Linked DNA regions of Homo sapiens: all the other regions are linked to region 4. Evidence: promoter capture Hi-C in human tissues and cell types (Jung and others, 2019). All regions are on one chromosome and are shown on one strand. Each heading gives the region's core, a stretch centred on a gene start or on the middle of the fragment in contact. The rest is flanking DNA. Distances are from core to core; before and after follow the strand shown. Region 1 overlaps VDAC3 (voltage dependent anion channel 3). Region 2 overlaps KAT6A-AS1 (KAT6A antisense RNA 1). Region 3 overlaps POLB (DNA polymerase beta). Region 4 holds the start of PLAT (plasminogen activator, tissue type). Region 5 holds the start of POLB (DNA polymerase beta).

The links. Contacts are between HindIII fragments. The study calls those that stand out against the background at their distance.
Region 1: a fragment that was not itself captured here is called in contact with the fragment with the promoter of PLAT in region 4 in 1 of the 25 tissues and cell types used here (lymphoblastoid cells).
Region 2: a fragment that was not itself captured here is called in contact with the fragment with the promoter of PLAT in region 4 in 3 of the 25 tissues and cell types used here (H1 embryonic stem cells, bladder and heart right ventricle).
Region 3: a fragment that was not itself captured here is called in contact with the fragment with the promoter of PLAT in region 4 in 11 of the 25 tissues and cell types used here (H1 embryonic stem cells, IMR-90 fibroblasts, dorsolateral prefrontal cortex and 8 more).
Region 5: a contact is called between the fragment with the promoter of POLB here and the fragment with the promoter of PLAT in region 4, in 14 of the 25 tissues and cell types used here (H1 embryonic stem cells, IMR-90 fibroblasts, adrenal gland and 11 more).

Annotation. Positions count from the first base shown.
Region 1 is chr8:42,398,699-42,402,318 of GRCh38, reverse strand. It overlaps VDAC3 (voltage dependent anion channel 3), which reads right to left. Exons shown (of 10, transcript NM_005662.7): 5 at 3,455-3,607; 6 at 2,616-2,668; 7 at 304-531. Among named protein-coding and RNA genes, the nearest start is that of VDAC3, 8.6 kb to the right of the region's middle. RefSeq lists a silencer at 919-1,138. The HindIII fragment of the contact is 4,382 bases long and covers 41-3,620 here.
Region 2 is chr8:42,062,330-42,066,517 of GRCh38, reverse strand. All of the region lies in intron 1 of KAT6A-AS1 (KAT6A antisense RNA 1), which reads right to left. Among named protein-coding and RNA genes, the nearest start is that of KAT6A, 12 kb to the right of the region's middle. The HindIII fragment of the contact is 4,701 bases long and covers 35-4,188 here.
Region 3 is chr8:42,368,320-42,372,032 of GRCh38, reverse strand. It overlaps POLB (DNA polymerase beta), which reads right to left. Exons shown (of 14, transcript NM_002690.3): 12 at 2,698-2,762; 13 at 2,045-2,184; 14 at 225-470. The coding sequence ends at 376. Among named protein-coding and RNA genes, the nearest start is that of DKK4, 7.1 kb to the left of the region's middle. The HindIII fragment of the contact is 3,911 bases long and covers 310-3,713 here.
Region 4 is chr8:42,205,835-42,209,899 of GRCh38, reverse strand. It overlaps PLAT (plasminogen activator, tissue type), which reads left to right and starts at 2,335. Exons shown (of 14, transcript NM_000930.5): 1 at 2,335-2,406. RefSeq lists enhancers at 797-1,315, 1,316-1,834. The HindIII fragment of the contact is 37,434 bases long and covers 1-4,065 here.
Region 5 is chr8:42,337,006-42,341,040 of GRCh38, reverse strand. It overlaps POLB (DNA polymerase beta), which reads right to left and starts at 2,547. Exons shown (of 14, transcript NM_002690.3): 1 at 2,356-2,547; 2 at 1,972-2,029. The coding sequence starts at 2,416. The HindIII fragment of the contact is 25,945 bases long and covers 1-4,035 here.

The DNA.
Region 1 (3,620 bases), core at 982-3,481, 190 kb before region 4:
AAGGGTCATCTTACCATGAGGTAAGCCATGCTCTGGGCTCCCTCTATCCCAGTGGTTCTTCTACAGAGGCTGGAGCTTCCTCAAGTTTGGGGTGCAGGCTGAGGGGCCAGTGACCACCAGCAGCACAGCCTGCACACCACGTGCACCAGCCTCCTGGCAAGGTTTTGCTATGAGGATAGCACCGCAAGGATGGATATTCACCAAGGCATGCTAAATCTGAGTACCATCACTTCTCAGCATGCTAATGGCTACAATATTTTGGGCAACTGCACTGATACTAAGGAATAAATTATAAACACTCACACATGTGTGTGCAGCTGGAAGTCCGCAGCCTTGTAACCCAGGGCGAAATTATTCTGTGACAGTTTGGATTTGGCTGTGTCAAAACTCATCTGATAGCCAGCAAGCCACCCTTCGAAGGCCAACACAGCCCAGCCATAGATGGTTGGTCCAGAAAAATCTATATCAACATTACTGCCAACACTAAAACAATCCCGTTTATAGGAGGCCTTCAATTTCCCACTCTTCTTTCTGCAATAAACAAACAAACAAAAGCAAATGATGAAAACAACATGAGTTCTTACTACTGTCTAGGAATTTTTAGAGTAAGATCCTCTCTCTCATCTCCCAATGTAAATATTATTTTGGTACATGCCACATATATAGTAAAAACATTTCAAATGACCTAGTTCTACAAATATAATTTTGTTAGGATTAGACATGTATAGACTACTATCATCTATTACTCATTATAAGTTCAAATGATAGGATACTTCATGATTTATTTCATAAAAGCATGAACAAAAGTATAAGAATGAATAAGAGGCTGGGTGTGGTGGCTCACACCTGTAATCCCAGCACTTTGGGAGGCCAAGGTGGGCGGATGACGAGGCCAGGAGATTGAGACCATCCTGGCCAACATGGTGAAACCCCGTTTCTACTAAAAATACAAAAATTAGCTGGGCGTGGTGGCACACGCCTGTAGTCCCAGCTACTTGGGAGGCTGAGGCAGGAGAATCACTTGAACCTGGGAGGCAGAGGTTGCAGTGAGCCAAGATCATGCCACTGTACTCCAGCCTGGCGACAGAGCGAGACTCGTCTCAAAAGAAAAAAAAAGAATGAATAAGATATTTCAGTGCCAAATTAATAATCTGAAGGTGTATGTATACAGACGTACAAGAAGCCAAATCTCTTTAAATGTTTCCAAATGCCAAATGCCACAAAGAATTAATCCCCAATATACATTATTAACCTATCATGGAGAGAAGCATGCTTTTTTGAAGGACAATACTGAAAAAATGAAATTAGTTCTTAATAACCCTATTCCAATCAAGCCTCTTGTAGGAATATTTGTCCTGGCCGGGCACAGTGGCTCATGCCTGTAAGCCCAGCATTTTGGGAGGCCGAGCCAGGCGGAACACGAGGTCAAGACAGAGACCATCCTGCCCAACGTGGTAAAACTCCGTCTCTACTAAAAATACAAAAATTAGCTGGGCGTGGTGGTGCATGCCTGTAGTCCCAGCTATTTGGGAGGCTGAGGCAGGAGAATTGCTTGAACCCAGGAGGCAGAGTTTGCAGTGAGCTGAGATAGTGCCACTATACTCCAGCAAGACTCCATCTCAAAAAAAAAAAAAAAAAAAAAAAAGAAAAGAATATTTGTCCTAAAGATAACTGAAGTGTGTGGCAAAAAGAACACACCTGTTGTTACGGCTGAGACAAATGTCACTTTGCATTCATCTAGCAACCTCCGTCCTTCAGATAGCATGGACCCACATTAGGCAGATAGGAAATGACACAATCCCCCTTTTTTTCACGAGGAAATTGAGGTCAAGAAGTTGGGGGATTTACAGAGGCTAAGAAATCAAGTAGGCAGCAGAACTAATCATTATAGCATCTGAGAGCCAGATCACCTTCTTAAGAAATTAACTTTTCAGCACCATAAGAGAGGGTGAGGGGGAAAAAAAAGGAATTAACTTTTTTTTTTTTTTTTGAGACAGAGTCTCGCTCTGTTGCCCAGGCTGGAGTGCATCTCGGCTCACTGCAAGCTCCGCCTCCTGGGTTCATGCCATTCTCCTGCCTCAGCCTCCTGAGTAGCTGGGACTACAGGCGCCCACCACCATGCCTGGCTAATTTTTTGTATTTTTTAGTAGAGATGGGGTTTCACCGTGTTAGCCAGGATGGTTTCCATCTCCGGACCTCATGATCCGCCCATCTCGGCCTCCCAAAGTGCTAGGATTACAGGCGTGAGCCACCACGCCCAGCCAAAAGGAATTAACTTTCTCAGCAGAATACCATGTCCATCAATCTTCAGAATTGCTTAAGATTCATCTATGGTCTCAAGACTCTTCTAGCTCCTAAATTTTTTCTACCATGTGTCTCTCTCAAATACATTTATACATTTTTGCTCATCTATTCAGTTTTCAAATTGTTCATCCTGCCTTGGTGGGGAGGGATCTTCCTTTATCTGTATTACCTATACAAGGTCTCCAATATTCCTTATAGCAACCTTCTGAGTTCTTCCTGCCTCTGAACTTTGCACTATATCTCCTTATTCTAAAGCTCTCTACCCTTTCAGGCTCCAAAAACGTTTCAGGAAATGGGATTTGAATAATTACCCTGTGTTCGGTACAAATATGGTATCAAGAGTCAGTTTCAACCCTTCAGCCAACTGAAAAACAAAGATTTAAAATAAATAATTAGTAATTTTCAATCATTTATCCAACTCAAGAAACCAATTCTAAAGTTTCCTGAGTTCTTTAACAAAAAAAAGGAGTCATTCAAGAAAGCAAAATATTAAATTATGTAATAAGTAAGCTCTCCATCCTCCTGTCCCCTCACCCCAGCCTTCATCATGGTTCTCCCACTAAAAAATGGGGCAAATCCTATTTTAGCAAGTTACATAAAATACAGTTCAAAACCAAACAGAATTCCCATACAACAAAATCATCTTGATACTCTCTTGAAAGAGCAGTAATGAGATAACCTGACATTTAACAAGCAGGCTAAGTCATTTTACTCAGTTTTGCATGTACATTATCTATACATGGTATCTCTATCAAAAACAGTGCCCTGTACATAGTGGGCACTTGACTATATCTAATAGATTTTCTCCTTGAAAACATGAGAACATTTTAGAAAAATTTTTCTGTCAAGCCAATTTTTCAACAATTACAAAACTAAACCAAATTTCCGCAAATAGTTTGTTCTACCCAGGAGAAGCTTAGCTGTGTAACAGAGAACCAGTCAGAACAAAGATGTAATATAGTAATTAGAGTACTCACAAACAAAGCCTTATTTTCTAGAAACATAAGACATCAAAAAAGGCCACATGCAGAGAAAAAATATGGCTACTAGATAGGTTGTAAGATCTCTTTTGATTATATTTGGGGTATGTTCATCATTCAATCTACAAGATAAATTGAACCTATGAATAACTTCTAATGCGTTCTCTTACCTTATTCTCCCAAGAGATTTCTGTCCCTAGAGTATTGTCTGTGTTCCATTTCTGGGTGAAGGTAAGTCCATAGTTACAGACCTTATATTTGGTTTCTAGGTTGCCTGATGCTTTCCCTGTATCAGTGTAAGCATGACCAGAAGTAGAAAATTCCTGGTAAGCAAGA
Region 2 (4,188 bases), core at 1,136-3,635, 140 kb after region 4:
TTACCTGTAACCTAAAAAATCAGTCCACACTGAAAAAAGAAAAGGGCTGGGGTTTATCTTCTCAGGATTCATTGATCTTACCGTGTACTCAATCACCTAACAGCAGCTAGCTGCTCATTTACAGGGGTAGCATGGACCATTGTAGTCAAGTGGGAACAATAACGTAATCGCCAGCTGCTACAGAGAGATGAAGCAGGAGAAAACTTTCCCATCCGAGTGGAACTGGACATGCAGAATCATGTGGATACGAAAAAGCCGCATATCTGAGGCACTGCAGGTAGTTGAGAAGGGCAGAAAATGGGGCAGGCAGGTGAGCTTTGTGGGTCCCACTGTAATCCCAACACTTTGGAAGGGTGAGGTGGGTGGATCATTTGAGGTCAGGAGTTCGAGACCAGCCTGGCTAACATGGTGAAACTCTGTCTCCACTAAAAATACAAAAATTAGCTGGGCGTGGTGGCACACAACCTGGGCTTTCCCCTACAGGTGATAGGAAGCCAAAGATGGTTGCTGTAAGAGCGACAGGGACCAGGACAGTTTACATTTTGGAGGAAAGCCTCATAACCTCCTCCCCTCTGCAAGCTACTTGGGAGGCTGAGGCAGGAGAATGGCGTGAACCCAGGAGGTGGAGCTTGCAGTGAGTTGAGATCGCGCCACTGTACTCCAGCCTGGGCAACAGAGCAAGACTCTGTCTCAAAAAAAAAATAAAAAATTAAAATAAAGAAAACGTTATTTATAGATACAACAGAAATCACATGGCTTACAGAAGGATATAAACAACTTACTGAAAACTAAAATGAAATGGATACATTCTTAGAAAAATATGTTATCAAAACTGGTTACAGAAGATAGAAAACCGTAATAATCTTATGACCATTAAGAAACTGAATCAGGATGCAAACATTTTTCTATGAAGAAAATACTACATCTGGATGCTTTTATTGATGAATTTTCCCAAATGTTTAAAGAAAAAATAATTATGTTCTATAAAACGTTCTAGAGTATAGAAAAAGAAGGAACGCTCCTTTCTCATTTCATGAAGCAAGCATAACTTTGATACAAAACCAAGCAAGAGGCCGGGCGTGGTGGCTCATGCCTATAATCCCAGAACTTTGAGGGGCCAAGGCGGGAGGATCACCTGAGGTCAAGAGTTCAAGACCAGCCAACATGGTGAAACCCTGTCTCTACCAAAAATACAAAAATTAGCCAGGTGTGGTGAGGCGTGCCTGTAATCCCAACTACTAGGGAGCCTGAGGCAGGAGAATCGCTTGAACCCAGGAGGTTGCAGTGAGCCAAGATTGTGCCACTGCATTCCAGCCTGGGTGACAGAGCAAGACTCTGTCTCAAAACAAAAAACAAAACAACTCTTAGCAATGTGGAAATAGAAGGGAAGTTCTTCATCCTCATAAAGAGGATCCTCAAAATACCTATAGCAAACATCACCCTTAATTTGAAAGCATTCCTTCTAAGATTAGAAGCAAGATAAGGGTACCAATTATCATCGCACAAATGACAAAAAAGGGAAAGGATACCTTTATGTAAACGAATAATAGGAGCTTCCACTCGACAAAAGACACGCTTAAAAAGACTGAAAGGAAAAGCTTAAAACTAGGGGACATAATATGCAACATACATGAACTGACATGTATCAGTACCTTGAATATATGAAGAACTATGAAAAATATAAGCAATCCAATAGAAAAATAGACAAAAGACTTGAAGAAGAGCTTCCCAGAAAAGAAAACTCAAATGGCCAATAAACAAAGGTCAATCTCACTAGTAATCAAGGAAATGCAAATTAAAATACTACAAATAATAACAACTCTAATAAGAGTTAACACTTACATTGTGGTCTCTATATAACTTAGATTGGTTTAGTGCCACAACTATATGTAGTAACTTTAAAAATTCTCACAACAATCCTATGTCATAGTATGGTAGGTATTAGTGCTATTCACTAATAAACCTTGCATGAGAAAACATAAGAATCCTTAAAATCATGTAGTATAAATCCAGCAAACTTTGTCCTTTTTCAAAGTTTATGACAATCCTGTACTTTGTATTTCATAAGACTTTAGAATTTGCTTGTCAGTTTCTTTTCCTTTTTTTTTTTTTTGAGATGGAGTTTCACTCTTGTCACCCAGGCTGGAGTACAGTGGCATGATCTCAGTTCACTGCAACATCTGCCTTCTGGGTTCAGGCGATTCTCCTGCCTCAGCCTCCCCAGTAGCTGGGATAACAGGCGTGCACCACCACGCCCAGCTAACTTTTGTATTTTTAGTAGAGACAAGGTTTCACCATGTTGGCCAGGCTGATCTCGAACTCCTGACTGCAGGTATTCTGCCTGCCTTGGTCTCCCAAAGTGCTGGGATTACAGGCGTGAGCCACAACGCCCGGCCTGCTTGTCAGTTTCTATAAACAAAGCCTGCTGGGATTATGATTACAATTGAATCCATAGCTGAATTTGGGAATAATTGATATCTTAACACCATTGAGGTTTCCAACCACAAAACAAGGTGTATCTTTCCATTTTCTTAGTTCTTTTTTTTTTTTTTTGAGACAAAGTTTTGCTTTTGTTGCCCAGGCTGGAGTGCAGTGGGGTGATCTCTGCTCACTGCAACCTCTGCCTCCCAGGTTCAAGTGATTCTCCTGCCTCAGCCTCCCGAGTAGCTGGGATTACAGGTGCCCGCCACCAGGTCCAGCTAATTTTTTTTTTTTTGTATTTTTAGTAGAGACAGGGTTTCACTATGCTGGTTGAACTCCTGACCTCAGGTGATCCACCCGCCTCGGCCTCCCAAAGTGCTGGGATTACAGGCGTGAGCCACTACGCCCGGCCCCATTTTCTTAGTTCTTAGCTCTTGGCAATATTTTGCAGCATTCAATGAACAGATCTCGCACTTATTTTGTCAGATTTATCCCCAAAGCTTTCATACTTTTAAGCAACTGTACAAAGCTAGTTTTTTTTTAATCGCCAATTGTTTGTTGTTAGTATACAGAAATACACTTTATTTTTTTAAAAAAATTCTGGTAAAATACACAAAACATAAAATTTACCATCTTAACAATTTCTAGGTGTTCACTTGATGGGTGTTAAAAATACATTGATATTGTACAACCATCACCACTATTCATCTCCAGAACTCTTTTCATCTTGTAAAACCAAATATCTGTACCTATTCAATAATAACTCCTCATTTTTCTTTTCCTCCAGGACCTGGCAACTACTATACAACTTTCCGTTTCTGTAAATTTGACTACTTTATGTAAGGGAAATCATACAATATTTATATTTTTGTGACTGGCCTATTTCGCTTGACACAATGTCCTCAAGTTTCATCAATGTTGTAGCGTATGTCAGAATTTCCTTCCCTTTTTAAGGCCAAATAATATTCCACTGTATGTATATACCACATTTTGTTTATCCATTCATCTGTTGATGAACATTTGAGTTGCTGCCACTTCTTGGCTACTGTGAATACTGCTACTCTGAACATGGGTATACAAACATCTCTTCAAGATTCTGTTTTCAATTTTTTTTTTTTTGAGACGGAGTCTCACTCTTTGTTGCCCAGGCTGGAGTGTAGTGGTGCAATCTCGGCTCACTGTAACCTCTGCCCTCCAGGTTCAAGAAATTCTCCTGCCTCAGGCTCCCAAGTAGCTGGCATTACAGGCTTGCGCCACCACGCCCAGCTAATTTTTGCATTTTTAGTAGAGACAGGGTTTCGCCATGTTGGCCAGGCTGGTCTCCAACTCCTGACCTCAGGTGATCCGCCCGCTTTGGCCTCCCAAAGTCTGGGATTATAGGTGTGAGCCACCGCGCCTGGCCTGTTTTCAATTCTTTTGTATATATATCCAGAAGTGAGATTGCTAGATCTTATGGTAATTCTATTTTTCACTTTTGAGGAAGCTTTATACTGTTTTCCACAGTGGCTGCACCATTTTATATTCTTAACAACACTACACAAGGACTCCAATTTTTCCACATGCTTACCAACACTTCTTGTTTTTTTTTTTTTTGAGACAGAGTCTTGCTCTGTCACCCAAGCTGGAGTGCAGTGGCATGATCTCGGCTCACTACAAGCTCCGCTGCCCGGGTTCATGCCATTCTCCTGCCTCAGCCTCCCGAGCAGCTGGGACCACAGGCGCCCACCACCACTCCTGGCTAATTTTTTTGTATCTTTAGTAGAGATG
Region 3 (3,713 bases), core at 1,016-3,515, 160 kb before region 4:
GGCTAGTCTCTGGGTGTACCTTAATTAACAATTTTTGATCAGTAAGTAGGGGTAATGTGGTTTATAGCATAGAGCAGAATATGAGAAAATAAAAATTCCCATTAAAGATCTGCTATCATCTCATATTTCTCTCTACAAAACCCATAGTAAAGTATGATCATGAACACAATATGAAAATTTAAACTAAACATACTTGCTAAGAAAATAAGATCATCATCATCCAATAATAGTACATGAGGTTTTATTGACTACATTGCAAGCAAAAGCATGAAGAAGAAACAATCATTTAAAAACACCAAAGACCCTTACATAGCAAAGGTTAAGAAATAAATTAAGACTCCTATTGGGTTGTGTCTGCCAGGGAGGATACAGGCCTCATTCGCTCCGGTCCTTGGGTTCCCGGTATTTCCACTGGATGTAATCAAAGATGTCTTTTTCACTATCCACTGGCAGGGGTTCTCCTGCAACTCCTGCAAGTACAGAGAGAAAAACTTATTGTAAGAACCAGTTTTATAGTTTAGTTATAGAGGGTTCAAGATTAAGAGCTGTGTGGGACTTGCTTTCAGAAGAAAAAAGAAAATGGTAACCAAGTCACTAAAAAAAAAAAGACCGGCGGATGTGGTAGCTCACGCCTGTAATCCCAGCAATTTGGGAGGCCGAGGCAGGTAGATCACCTGAGGTCAGGAGTTTGAGACCAGCCTGACCAACATGGAGAAACCCCATCTCTACTAAAAATACAAAATTAGCCAGGCGTGGTAGCTCATGCCTGTAATCCCAGCTACTCGGGAGGTTGAGGCAGGAGAATCGCTTGAACCTGGGAGGCAGAGGTTGCAGTGAGCCGAGAATGTGCCATTGCACTCCAGCCTGGGCAACAAGAGCGAAACTCCATTTCAAAAAAAAAGACACTGACTACCTCTATCCTCTCCCAGGAGGCTGTGCTGGAGCTTCATCTCGTGAGTCATCAGTGCCACAAAGGGAACCTGGGGATCCCAGCTAGGGCCACTCAAGTCATCCTCACTCATGATTGTCCTTTCTGCTGGAGCCACTATGTATTATATACTCTAGTGAGTTCCTTTGCAACTCGGTTCTTGGACTAGCAGCACTGGCATTATCTAGAACAAGCTTATCCAACCATGGCCCGCCAGCTGCATGCGGCCCAGCTCCACTTTGAATGTGGCCCAACACAAATTCGTAAACTGTCTTAAAACACGATGAGATGTTTTTATGATTTTTTTCTTTAAAGCTCATCAGCTATCGTGAGTGTTAGTGTATTTTATGTGTAGCCCAAGACAATTATTCTTCTTCCAATGTGACCCAGGGAAGCTAAAAGATTGGTAACCTCTGATCTAGAAGCTTACTAGAAATGCAGAATCCTGAGCCCCACTGCAAGCCAAAGGAATTAGAATCTGAATTTAGTGAGGCCCCCATGTTGCTGGTATGCACACTGAATTGTGAGAAGCACTGCCCTAGTCTACCAGGGATGAGGTATTTTATACTTTGAGGACAAAGTATTTTATACTTTGAGGACAAAATGACAAAAATTCATTCTCCTAGTAGAGAACAGTAAACCACATAGTATACTGTGAAATGTTAACAGAACCCATTAAGCATAGATTCAGCAATCCTTATTCTTTAAACTTTAAAAGCATGGGGCCAAAGATACCATGGCACTAAAAGCAAAGTATGTGGCACTGAAAACAATGATACTTGAGTTTTTCAGGGGTCCTAGAGGTACATTAAACAACAGCAAAAAAAAAAAAAAAAAAAAAAAAACCCTTTTAGATGAATAAGATATTTTACTGAGCATGCAAGGATTTAATCCATTTTAACAAAGCTGGAACTAACGCTTGCCTTGATGGCCTTCAACTGAGGGCCTAGGAGCATGTTATGCATTAAATCCTCTCTCGTTGCCTGAAGGACTAAAAATACAAAGAAACTACACTAACTGGCATAGTTATTAGAAGGTTTGCTAAACCAAAGTATCTTTGAAAATAACCTTCTCTCCAGATGAGAGATGATCTCTAATACACACATGGACACTCACCAGTGACTCCCAAGGGACGGATGGTGTACTCATTGATTGTGAAACCCTTTTCTAGGGCATGAGCCCTCATATTCTTATTGAAAATATCACTCCCAGTGAAATAGAGAACACCACAGTAATACTGATCTTTGGGTATCAACCTAAAAAAAATGGACAGTAGATACATTTTTTTACCATGCATTTCAAGTTTAGCAAATATAGGACTCCTAAAATCAATAAGGAACAAAATACCAAAGATAAGCCTAAGTGGTCTAATAATTTGAAGAGAAGACTATCATGAGGTAGACTGCTCAAATCACCCCAACCTTGTAATTTGTTTAGGTTTCTGTGAACTTTGTTCTGAAAGAGATGTGGAGAAATGAAATTGCATTATCACCTATTACAACTAACTTAGCCCAGGCAGGAAATGACTTTTGAGCTGTGGAAGGCATCATGGTGAGGTGCAAATCTAGAGAAAATAAATTGGAGTCTGTAGACAGTCATTATTCTTTACATACTTTGGAGCTAAACATTGCATTTGGCAAGAACATATGGCTCTTGGGAGTAAAAAAAGGCTCTAGATATGAATGTGAACTCCAAGATACAAACAGGGAGGGAGAAAACGAGACAAGTTTGGAAAAGTTAACAGGTCAGCAACAAAGTCTGAACAATACCTGATATCAATTCTTCTGTGTGGATATTCTTTTTCATCATTTTTACTGGGAAGCTGGCAAACACCCTAAAATGAACATTTTAAACCAAGTTTAAAGATGTTCTAAACTTAAGGCTTAATTTTAATCAAGTAAAACACAAGGCCATTTTTGTTTTTAATGTTAGCAGCTCTAGAATTCTGAGCACTTTTAACTTAGCAGCTTCTGTGAGCAATACACTATCCCTACCTTTCTATTACACTTCACGATAATTAGAGAACTACACAAAACTGCAAATAAGGATTCTCATTATGAGGATTTGGTCTTTGTGTGATTCTAAGCAAGAAACTAATCAAAGAAAACCCTGAACACGAAACACAGACATCAAAATAAACAGAAGAGAGCAACGTGGAAGAAACGATGATTATGCAGGAAGAAGAAAACAAACAAAAAAGCTACCAGTATAGTCTCAAACAAAAAAGCTTCCAGTAATAACAGAAGATACTCTATCCATGAAGTAAGAACAGAATACTATAGAAAACCCTCAGGGAAAGGTTTAAATCAAAATTTAAAATGATAGGTAGCAGAAGTAAAAGAGTTTGAAATTGAAGAAATCTCTCAGACACTAGAAGGGAGAAAGACACGGAAAATAAGAAAAATATGAGATCAGAAAATGAGGGGATCACTTTCTTCCTTCACAGGTAATTTTTCATTATACTTCTACAATTTCCAAACAAAAGTTATCCAAGTCTGTTTTATCTTTTCCCTTTCCTGAAAAATGGACAAAAAATCTGGACTGGTCAGCAACCCATACATATGTAAAACAAGATATAAGCACCACCAAATTTCCAATTAAAAGTATCAAATGCTACATTCTAAGAAAAATACACAAGTGACAAGCTTCTGGTCCTCAAGAGTGGTCAAGTTAACACATGCCACTAAAAGCCATACTTTTTCACTCAGCAAAATAGAAAAATTAAAATCTAAACTAATTCTTTAGCTGTTCCTATGGAAGAAAGATTAATGAAATATGTTTACCT
Region 4 (4,065 bases), core at 1,086-3,585:
GCCCACTTTGTCTCCGTGTTATCTAGGCCTGGATTTATTTCTCTTTTTTGAAAATGAAGGGCTTTGATGAAATGTTCACAGGATGTGAGGTCACCAAGATTTTTTTCCTTTTTTTCTGTTCTTTTCTTTTCCTCGAAGTGATCCCTTGACTAAAATCAAGGCTCCCATTGTCACCTTATCAGCCTGCCCATGCCTAATTCTGCATTCTCAGGCTTCCCCAGAATCTGTCCGAGGGAAACCAATCTCAATTCAGAAGGAACACAGAGGCCCCAGTTTCTAGGGCTGCAGGATATTGCTGGGTCTTAATCATTCGGGTATATTTCAGCAAAGCTCAGGGCCCCTGCTAATGATCTGCAAACCCTCTCCTCTCAGTCTCCCGTTGTTTAGCCCCTATTTATAAGTGAGTGCATGTGGTTGTTCACTTTCTGTTTCTGAGTTATTTCAGTTAGGATAATGGTCTCCAGTTTCATCCATGTTGCTCCAAAAGACAGACTTCATTGTTTTTTACGGCTTTGTCGTATTCCTCGGTGTATATGTGCATTTTCTTTATCCAGTCCTCCATTGATGGACACTTAGGTTAATTCTGTGCCTTTGCTATTGTGAATTGTGCTGTTGTGAATTGTGTGTGATAAACGTGTGAGTGCAGGTGTCTTTTTGATGTAATGATTTCTTTTTCTTTGAATAGATACTCAGTAGTGGGATTGCCGGGTCAAATGGATGTTCTATTTTTAGTTTGGGAAATCTCCATATTGTTTTCCATAGAGGTTCAGGATCCAGGATTTAAGTGCAACCATTCAGTGGAAAACCATCCTCTCAAGAGTTCAAATGAGAGTCCTCATGACCAGCACTCCCTGCTGAACGGCAATGCCCCACCCCCCAAAAAAGCCTCCATCCTCACCATCTTAGACCACATTGCAGGAAAGCAGCCCCATGCCCACCAGACAGGCCCACAGCTGCTGCTGCTCATGGGAGGTCTACCTCCCGTGCTCAGCAGGCAACCCACCCCAGTGCCCCTTTTCTACAATGACCATCAGCAGGGCTGCAGCTTCATAAAAATGTGAAAAACAGTTTGAAAGCAATGTGAAAAGCAGTTAGGTGCCTTTCAACTTCAAACTCAGCACTCATGGTTTGACAAATATGAGTATATTTAGGATCAGAATGTATGAAATCTGGCCTCTCCTGAATAGTCGGTCATCCCACAATTTCCTCTGCCAAACTTCTCTTCCCTCCCTGCGTTCTTTCTTTCACCTCTCTCTCATTTTTACAAGGTCTGGTCTCAGCCAGACATGAACCAATGATGATAGATGCTCCTGCTGAGCCCTGTGATGTGCCAGGGCCCTGACATGCGTGGCTTCTCTCTGATCCTCACGTGACCTGCAGATGCAAAAGCCAGAGCTCAGCATAGTTGAAAATCTTGATTGAGGTCATATCCCAGTTACTGGCACAGCCGGATTTAAACCTAAGACTTTCCCCTACACGACAGGGCTTTTATTTCTCAGTCATCTGAAAAGGTGTCAGCAAGGGAAATGGCTTGTCTATTTCCAGGGGCATTTTACAAGCAAATACTGAAAGGCTTCGGTGGGCTTAAGGGCTGATGGCTTTGATCGAATTTCAGGCATGTTGGCCCCAAGGCCCTGTGTATATTCCCTGGGCCCACTCAAGGGGATGCTGGAGCCGGAAAGTCCCCGGAGGCCACCTACTGCAGCCCTGCACTTTACAAAGAAGAGAAAGATTCTCCCTAAAATTACAGAACAGGGCCAAAGATGCCTACCGGAGCAAACCCCCATGGGGGCACCTCCTACCGCAGGTGAGCCCAAGGCTGGTCCTGCCTTCTCAGTGGCTACCCCCCTGAGCTCCCGCCACCACACAAAGTGTTCCAATCCTTGTGCATCCTCCAGTCCTTTTAACCTCTCATGTCCTGAGAGGCCAGAGCTACAGCCACAGATTCCAGAAGACACCCCACTCCCAGCCCCAACCTGCTGCCTTTAGAATTATAAACACTTCTTGTCATCACAGGGTCCTGAAAGTCCCTTTTAAGCCTGGGACACTAGGACTCTAAAGGAAGATGATTCTTAAGGTCCCATCCCACTTCCAAATTCCTGCGATTCAATGACATCACGGCTGTGAATAATCAGCCTGGCCCGAAGCCAGGATGGGCTGTGCTGCTTCCACCGTGAACTTCCTCCCCCTGCTTTATAAAAACAGGCCTGCCTCAGCTCCCTCATGGCCCTGTCCACTGAGCATCCTCCCGCCACACAGAAACCCGCCCAGCCGGGGCCACCGACCCCACCCCCTGCCTGGAAACTTAAAGGAGGCCGGAGCTGTGGGGAGCTCAGAGCTGAGATCCTACAGGAGTCCAGGGCTGGAGAGAAAACCTCTGCGAGGAAAGGGAAGGAGCAAGCCGTGGTAGGTCGGGTTTCTGTACCTTGGGGTCTGTCTCCTCTTCTTTCTCTTAAAAGTCTTTCCAGCAAGCTGAGCCAGTGAAGGAATGCTTTAACCAAGGGACCAACTTTGTAATTCAGGCAACTAGAGGATCCGCTAGAATCCACTCCAGAGGGGAGATGTCTGTTTGCATTTGCATGTGATTGGGATAGGCTGGAGTGTTTTGGAGGGGAGAGGCAGTCGGGGAAAGGGAGACTAGGGAGGTTGCATTCATTGGAGAAGCCTCTGCTGACAGAGTAAAGGGGAAAGTGAAAAGAACGATACAGAAAAGCCCCAAATAGCCTATGGGAGTACCTCAAGACGAGCAAGCAATAAAAGCAAAATCGGCTGCCTTGGGACACGTGCCTGTGACAGCTGGGAGGGCCCGCTGGGTCCCCTAGTTTCCTCCCTCCCCCGATGAACCCCCAGAAAGGAACTGAGGCTGTGGATGGGGCAGAGGGGGACTTACTTCCAGAGCACTATTTGCTAGGTGCTGGGAGAGAGAAGCAGGTGGCTTTCACACCCCACATTACCCCGTGGGATAGAGAAATGCCTCTGATCTCCCTAGGTGCCACCCCTACAAGTCTCCACAGGTCAGTTTGGCCCTCTGGCTTTTTGCCCAGGGTGCATCAGTCAAGTGTGCAGTCCTCCTTAAAGGACATTTTAATTACAGGGGAAAAAACTGACATTAATGTCTTTTATTCCTAAAGCACTCTGCAGGAAGCATGTGGGGTTCTCCAGATTTTCACTGTTATTATCTTTATTTTCTTAACCTCACAGGGAGGGAGAGAGGAAGGGAGGGAGGGAAGACGAAAACACGCCGAGGTCCCAGGTAACTAATGACAACTCAAGCTCAAAGAAGTGTGGTAACAAGGATGTGTTTGGTGGCCAATTGGGAATAATATGGTGGTCTCCTGTAGCTGCTTGATGACAGAAAAAATGTCGTGTGTGTGTGTATGCGTGTGCATTGCAGTCCCGGGAAGGGGTCTTGCAAATACCATTGTCAGGTGGAGTCCCCTCAAAGGTGACTTCCTAGCAGTACTTGCTGTGGCAAGAACGCTCATTCTGGGATCTAGACTCAATCCATGACGGTCAGCATGAGCTGCTGGGTGCGTGCTTCCTGTGCAGGCAGAGTCGGACTCCAGCACTGGCAGGGACACTGTGAGTATTGAGATATGAATAGCTCCATCCTGCCCACCCATTTATTCCACCTAAAATGTTCTCAAAGATGCAAGCCTCCAAGCTCTGGATCAAATGATAAAGCCCCAGATCAAAATCTCAGGAGCAAATGAAAGCTGCCCTTGTCTCCAAAATGCTCCTTCTCTGCCCGACTCCCCAAGACCAGCTTGGTTTATTTCACAATGACTCGCGTCGGATTCTCCCAGTGTCTGCGGCTCCCCCTGCTTCATCACAGGCCTGGGACAGTCCAGGCAGCCAGGGAATAGCTGGGAATAGCAGTTCCCCTTTGTTGGTTTTTGAGTTCACTGAGGCTTTGATTTCCCCCAGGGCCTGACGTTGCTGAGCAGAGCCAGCGGCCAGTAGATTTCAAAGGATTCCAAAAAACAGTCAGGCACTCCTTTGTGAACCCAAAAGTATCTGAGACAGGTCTGTCAATTTAGAAAGTTTATTTTGCCAATGTTAAGA
Region 5 (4,035 bases), core at 1,298-3,797, 130 kb before region 4:
AACATCTGACTTCCAGAAAACGTTATACCCTTCATGTCTCAATGCTTTGGCACATTTTATTTGTCTAGACTGCTGGCCCTCTCACTTATCCCGATGAGCTTCTTCAAACTAAACACCTCCTTTCTGAGACCTGCTGTGATCCAAATAGAATACAAAGTTGAATATCTCTGTAATTTTGAATCATCAAATGTATGGATGATAATACAATTATTTTACTTTACAGAGGAAGTCACAGAAGTAAGGAAAGGAGGGAGCACAATCAGCTCTGAACTGTGTGGAGTGGGAATGGAAGAAGGGAGCTGACTTGGGATAAAGACAGTATAGGGCTAAAAATGTGGAAAAAAGTCCAGTGATACACAGATTTGGAGTCACTGACATAAGTGGCATTTCAAAGTCAAGAATGGCAAGATTGCCAGGGAAACTACAGAAGTAAGAAAAGAGGGCTAAGGGCAGGCAGACTCCCCGGAACCACAGGTTAACTATCCCTTATCTGAAATGCCTGGGACCAGCATTGTTTCAGATTTTGAATTTTTTTCAGGGTTTGGAATATTTGCGTATACATAATAAGATATCTTAGGGATATGGGAGATACAAGTCTAAATACAAAATTCAGTCATATTTCTCACACACCTTACGCACATACCCTGAAGGTAATCTTATATAGTCGTTTTAATAATTTTGTGCATGAAACAAAGTTTTGACCATTTTGACTGCCACCTACTACATGAGATCGGATGTGGAATTTTCCACTTGTGTCATCATGTCGGCAATCATCCAGATTTTAGAGCATTTCAAATTTTCAGATTAGGGATGCTCAACCTATACCAACATTAAAAGGTAAGACAGAAGAAGAGATGAAAGACCAGAAAGAGTGCCATTACAGAAGTCAAGAGATATTCACAGCATGAGCCAGGGGTGAATGCCACAGAGAGTCCAATAAGATGAGACGTAGGTGAGCGGATTTTCAGAGCACTGGTAGGTCCAGGCAAGGACTGGGACTTCTTGAGTAAATGATTAGGTATTAAGAAGTCCAGGCAAGGAATGAAGATTTTTCAAGAAGATTCACCATAAAGTGAGAAAAGAGGGAAGGTGCTAGCTAGAGGGAAGTTAAGATTGTTTTGGTTTTGCTTTTAAGAGCTGAGGGACTTGCACATATTTATAGGCTAAGGAGAGCTGACACCGAGGCTGATGCCTGGAATCCCAGCACTCTGGGAGACCAAGGTGTGTGGACCATTTGAGTTTAGGAGTTGGAGATCAGCCTGGGCAACATAGCAAAACCCGGTCTCTACAAAAAAAAAAAGAAAAAAAAAGAAAGAAAAAAAAATTAGCTGGGTGTGGTGGCGTGCGCCTGTAGTAGTCCCAGCCACTCAGGAGGCTGAGATGGGAAGATCACTTGAGGCTGGAAGGTTGAAGCTGCAATGAGCCATGATCATACCACAGCGAGACCCCGTCTCAAATAAAAATAAATAAATAAATAAATATAGGCTAAGGAGTAGAAGCAGGTGGATGTGGAAAGAATGAATAGGATAAGGCCCCTGGTGAGATGAACAAGGACAGGATCCCATGAACAAGGAACAAGGATCAGGATCAGGATCCCACAGGATCAACTTTAGACCAACCAAAAGAAAAAATGTGATTCCTTGAACCACATATATTTCACAGTATGGACTTCATCCGCTGTCTTTCATTACGGTTAAAATTACACCGCATTTCTAGTAATTCATGTTTGATGATGACAAAATACGTATCAGGCTACAGCTATCTGCAATCAGAATTGGGAACTTATCTGAACTGATCCTATAACGCACTGCCCACATTCTTCAAGAAATAGTAAGGTACCAGCCTCGATTCTTGCTTTTTCCCGCTCTTGCAGATGGACCAAATATCCACTGGGCCCTCAGTCCTGTTAATTGCCACACTAAACAGGGTATCCCAGAACGTATGCTACCCGAGAATGCTGCACTGTCCCACCTGTAAGCATTGTACTTGTGGATAGCTTGGCTCACGTTCTTCTCAAAGTTTGCGAGTTCTGAAAGGCAACAGAAGGCTCGGGTGAACAAGAACCACGAGTAAACAAACGAGAACTGTTTTCTGGAAGGGGATATGGCAGCCTCTAAGAGACAGTGACCACCCGTTTCCTCCAAGGGCCAGACCAAAAGCAGCCCAAGCGATGGCCCAGGTGTAGCCGGCAGGACTGACAACCAGCCAGGGGCGCCGGAGGGAGATCCCCACGGAAGACGACCCGCTGCAAGGAACCTACCCTACCCACTGGACTGTCGGTGTGGGAGAGAAGGAAGGCAGGGGAAGAGGCTGGAAGGAAAGAAGAAAGCCAGCGGGGCCCGGCCCGGTGCTAACCTGTGAGCATGTCGGTGATTCCCCCGTTGAGAGTCTCCTGCGGCGCCTTCCGTTTGCTCATGGCGGCCTGCACCCGAGAACCCCAGAGTGTTCAGAACCAGGGACTAGAGCCCTCTCCCAGCTTGAAGGAGGTACCAGGACTTGGAGACGGGAGCAGGAGCAACCCAGCTCCGGCGCGACCGGCGGAACAATGGTTGCCCCCGATGGGGGGCGGGGCGCACGGCGCTTGTTGTGACGTCACGCGTCCTGGGCGGGGCGGGGCGGGGCTAGAGGGGCGAGCCCTCGGCAGGTGAGGAGAGAGAACTCGGAGGGTTCGTGGACTCGTGGACGTGGACACGGCGCGGGGGAAATAGGCACCTCAGAATGACAGCCCAGGGGCCTTCCTATGGGAAGACCTGGAGTTTTGACCTAAGATATTAAATCTGTTTTCTCAGTGTTTATCTGGAATCCTTTCCCTAGAAGGGGAAACGGGAGTGCGATCTTGATTCTGAAATACTTGCGCTGGTGGGGTAGCTTCCTGCACAAAAATGTGCACTGTAATAGCTACCCAATGCATGGCGCGTTTTGTACGTGGTTAGAGGCGACACTGGCGTCACACTGTCAAAACTTTCTCTAAGGATACCGGGCAGTCCACACTCCAGTGCAGCCCCTTACGTACTAGGGCGCTGCCGGAGCCCGGCGTGAACCATGCCGAGAACAGGAATCCTCCCGCACACGTGTTAGTACACCTGCCAACCAGTGTCAAAAGATATTTTATTTTTAATCCCCCTGCCTTTGCGGTAGGGACCAAATTAATGAAGAGACCACAAGAAAGGGAGAAGTGTTTCATCTAGATCATGAGCAATGGAACCCTAATTATAACATGATGACCTACATCTGAGAAATTTACAGTCTGCTTGAGAAATGGAAATGTCACATCAGCAATAGTTTATTTTACAAGCGTAACTCCTGGGTTCATATCGAACTGCAATTCCAGGCAATTGCTTTGTGCATCGAAAAATTAAAATTTATTACAAAATGATACGTAGTTGCTGTAGAGAAATCTGGAAAAATGTATAAAAGGAGAAAATTAAAATCAGTGATCTCACCCTACAGCTGAACTATTAATATTTTGGGACGTACACTTCTAGTCTTCTAACCCAGTCTATTAAAAATTCCCATTATTTTCCAATAAATATCATTAGTTTCTTTGATTAGCAAGGTTGTGGTGATTGTGTTTCCTTACAATATCAGTGTATATCTTAAGTTATGCTTATTGGAAATCTGTAATTCTTCTTTTTTTGAATTTCCTATTCATATCATTTACCATTTTCCTAATGGGGGTAGTTTGTTACTAATCTGGTAGATCTTTTCTATATATTACTACTTGCCCTTTTATGGATAGCTTTTGTAAAAATTTTGTACATATTTGTATTTTCCTCAATTTATTACTTGAGGAATAAAAGTTAAAAAAACTTTATGCCTGCAACTTAACTATCTGATTAGTTAAGCTGCAGTGAGCAGTGACCACTCTCATTTACTCTTTATACTCTCATTTACATATATGACTTGTCCTAGTTTTCCCTGTTCACACTTTTTTCTGTCCAATCTCTATTCCAGGTGATATTCAGATTATTTTGCTCTGAAGAATTATTCCTCCTTAAATAAAAATGTATTTACCTCTGAATTTTAAAAGTTACA